Linked DNA regions of Homo sapiens: region 1 is linked to region 2. The links are contacts of gene promoters, found by promoter capture Hi-C in blood cells and fetal thymus (Javierre and others, 2016). All regions are on one chromosome and are shown on one strand. Each heading gives the region's core, a stretch centred on a gene start or on the middle of the fragment in contact. The rest is flanking DNA. Distances are from core to core; before and after follow the strand shown.

What was found. The method cuts DNA at HindIII sites, captures the fragments that hold promoters and counts their contacts. A CHiCAGO score of 5 or more calls a contact.
Region 1: a contact is called between a fragment that was not itself captured here and the fragment with the promoter of ZNF358 in region 2, in 1 of 17 cell types (M1 macrophages). The highest score is 5.7, in M1 macrophages.

The regions. Positions count from the first base shown.
Region 1 is chr19:7,805,090-7,809,644 of GRCh38, forward strand. The region is part of intron 1 of LOC124904628 (a long non-coding RNA gene); the gene reads left to right. Among named protein-coding and RNA genes, the nearest start is that of EVI5L, 23 kb to the right of the region's middle. The HindIII fragment of the contact is 161 bases long and covers 1,240-1,400 here.
Region 2 is chr19:7,513,372-7,518,465 of GRCh38, forward strand. It overlaps ZNF358 (zinc finger protein 358), which reads left to right and starts at 2,732. Exons shown (of 2, transcript NM_018083.5): 1 at 2,732-2,878. It overlaps LOC105372261 (a long non-coding RNA gene), which reads right to left. Exons shown (of 3, transcript XR_936294.3): 3 at 982-1,104. RefSeq lists a silencer at 2,564-2,813. The HindIII fragment of the contact is 10,458 bases long and covers 1-5,094 here.

The DNA of each region.
Region 1 (4,555 bases), core at 70-2,569, 290 kb after region 2:
GGGACACACCTTCAACATTCACCCAGGAAATTTACAACTGTGCTTTAGCTCTCACTTCCTGCTTACACAGAGCCTCGAAGTCGGCCAGCGGTGTGAGCTTAGGGCTGTCTCAGGTCTTTCCTAAGCATGTGGCCTTCCATATCCCCAGAAATATGTCAGAATTTTTCAAAAGTCCCTCCGAACATCTAATGTCTTCATTTTTCCTTCTAAGATTTTTTTTTTTTTTTTTTTTGAGACGGAGTCTCGCTCTGTGGCTCAGGCTGGAGTGCAGTGGCGCGATCTCGGCTCACTGCCAGCTCCGCCTCCTGGGTTCACACCATTCTCCTGGCTTGGACTACAGGCGCCCGCCACCACACCCGGCTAATTTTTTGTATTTTCAGTAGAGACGGGGTTTCACCGTGTTAGCCAGGATGGTCTCGATCTCCTGACCTCAAGTGATCCTCCCGCCTCGACCTCCCAAAGTGCTGGGATTACAGGCGTGAACCACCGCGCCTGGCGCTTTTCCTTCTAAGATTTTTAGTTAGGCTATTATTTCCCCAACTGTTAAGTATTGCCACAGGCAGCTGCAATGTTAAAACATTTAACAAATAGCCCCTGGGGAGAAATGTTTAGCATCCGGCAAGTTCAAGTGAGGTCAGGTCTTTCAGAGCAGGGTCTTCCAGAGTACCAATAAATAGGTCAATAAATGACTCTTCTTGGCTGGGTGCGGCGGCTCACGCTTGTAATCCCGGCACTTTGGGAGGCCGAGGTGGGTGGATCACTTGAGGTAAGCAGTTTGAGACTAGCCTGGTCAACATGGTGAAACCCTGTCCCTGCTGAAAACACAAAAATGAGTCAGGCATGGTGGCGGGCACCTGTAATCGCAGCTACTCCGGAGGCTGAGGCAGGAGAATCGCTTGAACCCAGGAGAAGGAGGTTGCAGTGAGCCGAGATCACGCCACTGCACTCCAGCCTGGGCGACAGAGCGAGACTCTGTCTCAAACACACACACACACACACACACACACACACACACACACACACACACACACCTCTTCTTGAATGATCCTGAATGAGGTTTTGAAGGAGCCGCACCTCTGTTCTTTTCCGTATGGTATCAAGATTGTGGGCTGTTATTTTTCAAGGCTACCCTCTGAGCTGGAGAGCCAGGAATAAGACTAGAGTGAGTTAAAATTCTACAGAGCTTGCTGTTTTTTTATGTGTTTTTTTTTTTAATTAAATGCTCTGCAAATTACTGTAAGCTTTTGGTTAATTTCCAGAGTTGTGAAAATGTTGATTCTGTCAAATTTTGCCAGTTTTTTTCATTGCTTTTGTAGAAAGGCAAATTTTACTCTGCCATTTTGCTGACGTTCTTTTTTTTCCCCTTCGATGCTTAAATTATCTTTAATTTGGCCAGTGAAAGCTTTTCTCTCTGGCTTCTGGGTCCTTTTGACATATTCCTATTGGTTTTTTGCTGATCGTTTTTTCTTCCTTCCTGGCCTAACTAGATGTTCTAGGCTTTTGTCCCCCCCAACCCTGCCTCAGCCTCCCAAGTAACTAGGACTACAGGAGCACGCCACCACGCCTGGCTAATTTTTAAATTTTTTGTAGAAATGGGTCTTGCTATGTTGCCCAGGCTGCTCTCATTTTTCCAAAAAGCCCTGGGCTAGGTGGAGATTGGCAGTTAGAAATGATCTGGGTGTTAAGTGTGCCCATTGTTACTGGGGTATGTGGCTCCCAGGTCCTCTTAGTAGATAAATGGGAACACACACACACACACACACACACACACACACACACAAACTTATTTCTATATTTATCTTTATATTTTGAAAACCATGAATTCACCTCAGTACCTCCAATTCAATAGGGTTTATTCTTGTTTTTTTTTGTATCTTTTCTTTTTTTTTTTTCTTGAGACCGAGTCTCGCTTTGTCACCTGGGCTGGAGTGCAGTGGCGCAATCTTTGGCAGTCTCAGCTCACTGCAGCCTCAACCTGCTGGGCTTGAGGGATTCTCCTGCCTCAGGCTCCTGAGCAGCTGGGACCACAGGCTCACGGCACCACACCCAGCTAATTTTTTGTCTGTAAAGACAGGGTCTCACTATGTTTCCTGGGCTGGTCTGGAACTCCTGGACTCAAGCGATCCTCCCACCTTGGCCTCCCAACGTGCTGGGATTACAGTGGCCGGGTGCAGCGGCTCACGCCTGTAATCCCAGCACATTGGGAGGCCGAGGCAGGTGGATCACCCGAGGTCAGGAGTTCGAGACCAGCCTGGCCAACATGGCAAAATCCCATCTCTACTAAAAATACAAAAATTAGCCGGGCTTGGTGGCGGGAGCCCGTAATCCCAGCTACTTGGGAGCCTGAGGCAGCAGAATCGCTTGAACCTGGGAGGTGGAGTTTGCAGTGAGCCGAGATCTTGCCACTGCACCCAGCCTGGGTGACAGAGCAAGACTCTGTCTCAAAACAAAACAAACAGAAAAACAAAGTGCTGGGATCACAGGCATAAGCCACCACACCTGGCCTCTGCATCTCATGAGCATTTATTTTGTGCTATGTGTTTTTTGGATATGACCTCAAAGAATCCGGTAACACAGCCGCCCTCATTCTCATTTTACCTATGAGCATAGTGGCTCAGAGATGAGTCACCTGCCCACAGCCCATCAGCTGATAAACACTGGAGTTGGGTTTGAAACTGTGAAAGCAATGAGGACCACATCATTTTCACTTCCCTTCGTGGCCCCAACTCAAACCAACCCAAAACCCAAGAAAGAAGATGTGGAGATTGTGTTGCCTTTCATAACTGGGAAGCGCGGGTGAGTGGAGGGGACCAGATTCAGGATCTGCTTTTCTTTCTTTCTTTTTTTTTTTTTTTTTTTTTGAGACGGAGTCTTGCTCTATCGCCCAGTGGAGTGCAGTAGCGCGATCTCGGCTCACTGCAACCTCCACCTCCCGGGTTCACACCATTCTCCTGCCTCAGCCTCCCGAGTAGCTGGGGCTACAGGTGCCTGCCACCACGCCCGGCTGATTTTAGCATCTGCCTTTCTTTATCTGTCTATGATCTGTTTGCTCCAGAATGTAACCTTCTAGACCAAAGGTTGGCAAACATTTGAAAAGGGCCAAATAGTAAATATTTTTGGGCCTCGAGGGCTCTCTGCTGCAACTCTGCTATTCTAGCACAAATGCGTCACATACAATACATAAATGCATGGGCAGAAAACAATTTGTTAGCCGGGCACAGTGGCTCACGTCTGTAATCCCAGCACTTTGGGAGGCCAAAACAGATTAGGGTTTTCCAAGGCTGCAGGAAGGCAGGAATGTGGAGTGACTGCTTAGTAAGTATGGGGGGCTGGGCATGGTGGCTCACGTCTGTAATCCCAGTACCTTGGGAGGCCAGGGGAGGAAGATTACTTGAGGCCAGGAGTCTGAGACCAGCCTAGGCAACATAGCAAGGCCCCATCTCTACAAAACATTTGAAAATTAGCTGACCACGGTGGCACATGCCCACGTCCCCAGCTACTCAGGAGGCAGAGGTGGGAAGATTGCTTGAGCCCAGGAGGCTGAGGCTGCACTCAACCATGATTGTGCCACTGCAGTCACCCTGGGTGACAGAAGAAGACCCTCTCTCAACAAAAACAAAAATAAATAAATAGGCCGGGCGCAGTGGCTCATGCCTGTAATCCCAGCACTTTGGGAGGCCGAGGCGGGTGGATCATGAGGTCAGGAGATCAAGACCTTCCTGGCTAACACGGTGAAACCCCGTCTCTACCAAAAATACAAAAAATTAGCCAGGCATGGTGGCAGGCACCTGTAGTCCCAGCTACTCAGGAGGCTGAGGCAGGAGAATGGCATGAACCCGGGAGGCGGAGCTTGCAGTGAGCCGAGATTGCACCACTGCCCTCCAGCCTGGGCGACAGAGTGAGACTCCGTCTCAAAATAAATAAATAAATAAATAAATAAATAAATAAATAAATAAATAACTATGGGGTGTCCTTTTGGGGAGATGAGAATGTTCTGGAACTAGGTAGTAGGGATGGTTGCACAACATTGTAAATGTACTAAATGTCACTGAATTGTATACTTTAAATGGTATGCTTTAAATGGTAAAGTTTATGTTATGTGTATTTTACTACAATAGAGGAAATGAAGGGAATCCTTCAGGATGAAATGAAAGAACACTAGACAGTAACTCAAATCCATATGAAAGGCCAGGCGTGATGACTCTTGCCTGTAATCCCAGCACTTTGAGAGGCCAAGGCCCACCTGAGGTCAGGAGCTTGAGACCAGCCTGGCTAAACATGATGAAACCCCGTCTCTACCAAAAAATACAAAATTAGCTGGGTGTGGTGTCGTGTGCCTGTAGTCCCAGCTACTTGGGAGGCTGAGGTAGGAGAATCACTTGAACCCCGTTGACGTGAGCTGAGATCACACCACTGCCCTCCAGTCTGGGCGACAAAGTGAGACCCTGTCTCAAAAAAAAAAAAAGTCCACATGAAGAAATAAAGAACCCCTTCCCACCACTGGCATTTTCCGCAACTGCCTCCCATATAAATTCCTCTTGTCCTCAAATTTGGG
Region 2 (5,094 bases), core at 1,482-3,981:
GCTCTGTTGCCCAGGCTGGAGTATAGTGTGGCACGATCTCGGCTCACTGCAATCTCCACCTCCCGGGTTCAAGTGATTCTCCTGCCTCAGCCTCCCAAGTGGCTAGGATTACAGGTGCCCTCCACCATGCCCGGCTACTTTTTGTATTTTTAGTAGAAATGGGGTTTCACCATGTTGGCCAGGATGGTCTCAAACTCCTGACCTCAGTGAGCCGCCCATCTCAGCCTCCCAAAGTGCTGGGATTACAAGTGTCAGCCACCGCGCCTGGCCAGGCAACAATTTAATCCGCTGGTTTTCTTCCACATAACTCTAGTTTTCTGGGGGAAAGCTCTTTTACAAAGCCCCGTATACATCTAGACAGGTCGTGCATTGCATAACTTAAGGTGCCCTATTCACTTTATAGTCCATGTATGTGGCAACCCTGGCTCTCTATCCCATCTTTCTTTAGTTTGTTCCACATTTTAGGGTTTTTTTTAAAAGATTTTTTTTATTACTCTTTCCTTTCCAGGTAATAATTCCTAAATTAGTCAAGACTGTCACGGATGCAAAGAACAGACATCCACTAAAACCAGCTCAAACACCCAGAACATTTGTTGGTTTGTGGTACAGGAAAGAATGAGTTCTGTGGCTTCAGGTACGGCTATATCCAGGAGCTCAACAAATATAGCCAGAGCTATCTCTCTGACTCTTACTTGTACATCTTGGTGCATATTGTCCTCAGTCTGCAGACCGTTCTTTTGAACAACTGGGGAAAGTGGCTGCAGGCAGAATGAGCCCCCTGTGGCTCATAACCCCAGAAGTAGAGTGAGAACCTCCAATGTCACCTTCTCAACCCATACCTAATTATTGTGGCCAGGGGATAGGGGCCCTTTGATTAGAGTCCAGCTCACGTGGGACTGGGAAGGGGTGTTAGACACATGTGCATCTGGAGTAGTGGAGGGGACCCCACAAAGGAAAAGAAAGTACTGTTAGATTCTGAGCCAAAGAAACAACAGATGTCATCACATGTATTTGTAATGGGATCATCCAGGAAGTGTCAGGATAAGGAACCAGGGGCATAATCCAATTGAAGTTATCTCCAATCTCTCAGATCTGCTGTGGGCTCTGCGGAAAGATGGAAAGCAGGTCTCAGGCTGAGTCTAACACACATCTAGAAGGTTCAGGAAGGAAGAAGGAACCATAGGGTGTCTCTATAAGGAGGACATGGGGACAGAGGAGTATCTTATAGAATTTGGGCTTGTACTTGGTGGTTTGCATTTTTTGTTTTGTTTTTGTTTTTGAGACGGAGTCTCGCTCTGTTGCCCAGGCTGGAGTGCAGTGGTGCAATCTCGGCTCACTGCAACCTCCACCTCCTGGGTTCAAGCAATTCTCCTGCCTCAGCCTCCCGAGTAGCTGGGATTACAGGTGCCTGCCACCACGCCTGGCTAATCTTTGTATTTTTAGTAGAGACAGGATTTCACCATGCTGGCCAGGCTGGTCTCAAACTCCTGACCTCAAGATCCACCCGCCTTGGCCTCCCAAAGTGCTGGGATTACAGGCATGAGCTACCGCACCCAGCCTATACTGGGTGGTTTTACAGAGAATTACTAGGGTGGTATTGTCGGGAACCTGGGAGCGCTTTGCTGACTAGGTATTTCAGTGATTTTTGTCTCAGAGGTGGGAGGATGGCAGTTGGGTTGGAATTGTCGTCGGTAAGAAGTGGCAGTCATTTGTGTTCACTTGGAGAGGGGGATGAGAACTCATTTTTGTGGTTGCACAGGGCCCATGTCTCTATCTTGGTTCAGACATGGTCACAGAGTGGCCTTGCCTCATCATTGTTTATATTCTGTGACCATTGTTTATATTTAGTGGAGAACATCGCGGCCCAGCCATCAGGAGCTGATTTCCACTCTCTCTCCTGGCTGGCAGCGGGGATCTGTGTCTCCAAGGAAAGTTTGCCCCGAGCCCTTCCCGGCCCGGCGTAGGGTTCTCCGGAAACCATCACTCACATCTAGCACTTGGAGGCCTCCAGGGACAGCGGTGACCCACCATCTGGGTAGGAGGCTGAAAACACTAGAGGAGGAATATCCCAAATCTGTGCCTTGGCGGGTGTTACCCAGAAAGGGTGACGGGTTTCACCATGCAAAAAGGAAAAATTGGAGGAAGGCCAGGTTAAGCAAAAATAGACATGTTTTTAGATTGCAGAGCTGAGAGGCTTGGCTGTGCCTATGTGCGCTGCAAGTCTCCAAGAACAACATGTGTAGAGTTTTACGAACAAAGATAGAGTCAGAGACATGGGCAGGAGGCAGAGACAGAGAGAGAGAGACAGACAGACACAGAGAGAGATAGAGGCAGAGAAAGCAACAGAGGCAAAGAGATTGGAACACAGAGAAAGAGATGGGGACAGAGACACAGAGAAAGGAACAGAGATGGGAAGACAGGGACAGAGACAGAGAATGAACAGAGATAGAGAGATAGGGACGGAGAGAGACAGAGAGAGGGACAGGGATGGAGAGAAAGAGATAGGGCCAGGGCCACAGAGGGACTGAGACAGGCCCAGGAGGAGACTAGGGATGGGGCCAGGGCTGCGTGCGGGCGGGGCACGGTGCAGACAAAGGCGCGGCCGCGCGGTCGGGGTGGCCTGGCCGGGGACAAAGGCCTGCCCGGGGGGCGGGGGCAGCGATGGCGACGGCCGCGGCGGGCGCGGGCGAACTACAAGTCCCAGCAGCTCCCGCTGCGGCCCTCGGCCGGCCCCTCTCGCTCCCCGGGAGCGCCTGGCGGGGCCGCTGGGCCGAGGGGGCCGCCGGCGGGGCTGGCGGGCGGGGGGCTTCCTGCGGGCCCGGGGGGAGCCGGCGGCCGGCGCGGGCGCGGCGGGCCGGGCAGGGGCGAGGGGCGCCGGGTGAGTGTCCCTGCGAGCGGGCTGGGGCCGGGGCGGGGGGCTGGGTGGGGGGCGGGCGGGCGGGGGAGCTCCAGGCGCGGGGCGCAGCCCGGGGCGACCTCTAATCGTCCCCCGCCCTGCGCGCCGCCGGCCCTGGCCCAGGCGAGCGGGGGTCGCGGGAGCGATGGGGAGGGGACTCTGCGGCCAGCTCCGGCCTAGCGCACCCATCCCGCCGCTGGGGCCCGGGGGGAAAGGGCCAGGAGGTTGGGAGCCTTCAATCGGGCGGGGTGGGGGGCGCCCGCCAGCTCTGGGGTCTGGAGCTCAGGACGCCCCCTCCCTAGGAGGCGATCCAGGACCCCCTCCCCTCCTGATTCGAGGTATTGTTCCCACCTCCCGCCTGGGGTCTGGAGTTCAGGAGGCCCTGTCCTCAAAAGGGGGACCTAGGGGTTCCCTCTTCCCCCAGGACCCTAGGAAGGGTCCCAGCGATTGTTCCCTTGCCCCTCCAGTCTTGGGGTCTGCAGTTCTGGAAGCTCCTTTCCCTGGAGGTGATCCAGGGGTCCACCTGCCCTCACCCCTGGGAACTCAGGAAAGACTTAAGTGATTTCTCCTCCCACCTTCCAGTTAAGAGATGGGAATTCAGGGGGCTCCTTCCCCTGGAGGCAATCTAAGGGTTCCTCTGCCCCTGATGCAGGAGGGGTCCCAGGTCTTGTTTCCCCCACTCTCCAACTATGGGGTCTGGGTTGAGGACCGCCGTCCAGGAACTCGGCTCTGTTTGCCTGCACACTCCCAGCTATGGGGTTGTGGCTCAGTGTATTCCTTTCCCCAGAAGGGGAGCCACAGGTCCCCCCACAGCTTCTCCCAGGAGCAGATCATTCATTGTTGACACCTCAACACCCAGCCATGGGGTGGGGAGCTCAAGGCATCCTCCCGGCAGGTCATCCTGGGCTCCCATTGCTCCCCAGAAGTGGTTCCAGCTTTTGTCCCTCTACCTCCCAGTCTGCCCCTAGCCACAAGCTGGCAATTCAGTTCAGGATCCTTCCTGCAGGAAGGGCTACAAGTGTGCTGACACTACCCGCCATGTCCCAGCCATGGGAGGAGATGACTCAGGCGTTCCCCCATTAACTTCAGAGGGTCCCCAGGTATTATTTTTGCCTATCCTCCAGCTAGAAGTTAAAATGCAGGACCTTCTAGCCAATAGGGAAAACAGGTATACTGGCCGGGCATGGTGGCTCATGCCTGTAATCACCATACTTTGGGAGGCTGAGGTGGGAGGATCATTTGAGCCCAGGAGTTTGAGTCCAGCCTGGGCAACATACCAAGACCCCATCTCAAACATAAATAAATAAATAAAACAGGTATACTAACAACTGTCCCCACCATCCTGCCTATGGGGTTCATGAGTCTCCCTACCCATCCCTCCTCACCAGGAGGGGTCCCAAATATCACTCTACCATGCTCACTATCTGGCTGTAGGAAAGGGCATTTCCGATCTGTCTAAGAGAGAGGATTTGACACTGACTCCCACCTGGAGCTGTGAGCTCTGGAATTCAGGTTTTCTTTTCCCCAGAGGGCAAGCCAGAGTCTTCTTGTCTTTCCCCAGTGACTTGGGAGGGATACCTGATGTTATTTGTTCCATATTCTTATCCCCCAGACATGGGTTCTAGAGCTCAGAATGCTGCTGCTGGAGGGGGGCCTCCCTACCAGAACTCGCCCCCTAAATTAATCTGCCGCCTCCAAGTATGGGACAAGAATTCAGGCCATGTGCTCAGGAGCACAGAAACGCTGACACCCACACTGTTCCCCATGTGGGGACGCCCAGCAAGGGGGTAGGAAGCTAGGACTGTCTCCTCCACAGGACCCCAGCTTCCCACAAGAGGAGCCCAGGTTGGAGAGAGGTGCAGAGCCATGGAGTTGGGGACTAGAAACCTCTAGTGCTGGGTCTCATGACCTCCGTCCAGGTTTGGGGCTGAGAGGGGAGGGTCCTACCATGTCCCACCTGGTTCCCTCAACTCCCTGCCCTGGCTGGGGTAAGTCAGAAATCTCCTTGCAGTCAGAGACAAGGGAAGGATCCACGTGTATGCTCAGAAGTGAGTGGGGTTTGGCCAGGCACAGTGGCTCATGCCTGTAATCCCAGCACTTTCTGAGGCCAAGGCCAGAGGTTTGCTTGAGTCCAGGAGTTTGATACCAGCCTGGGCAACATAGCGACACCCCATCTCAAAAAAGAGAGACAGAGGGAG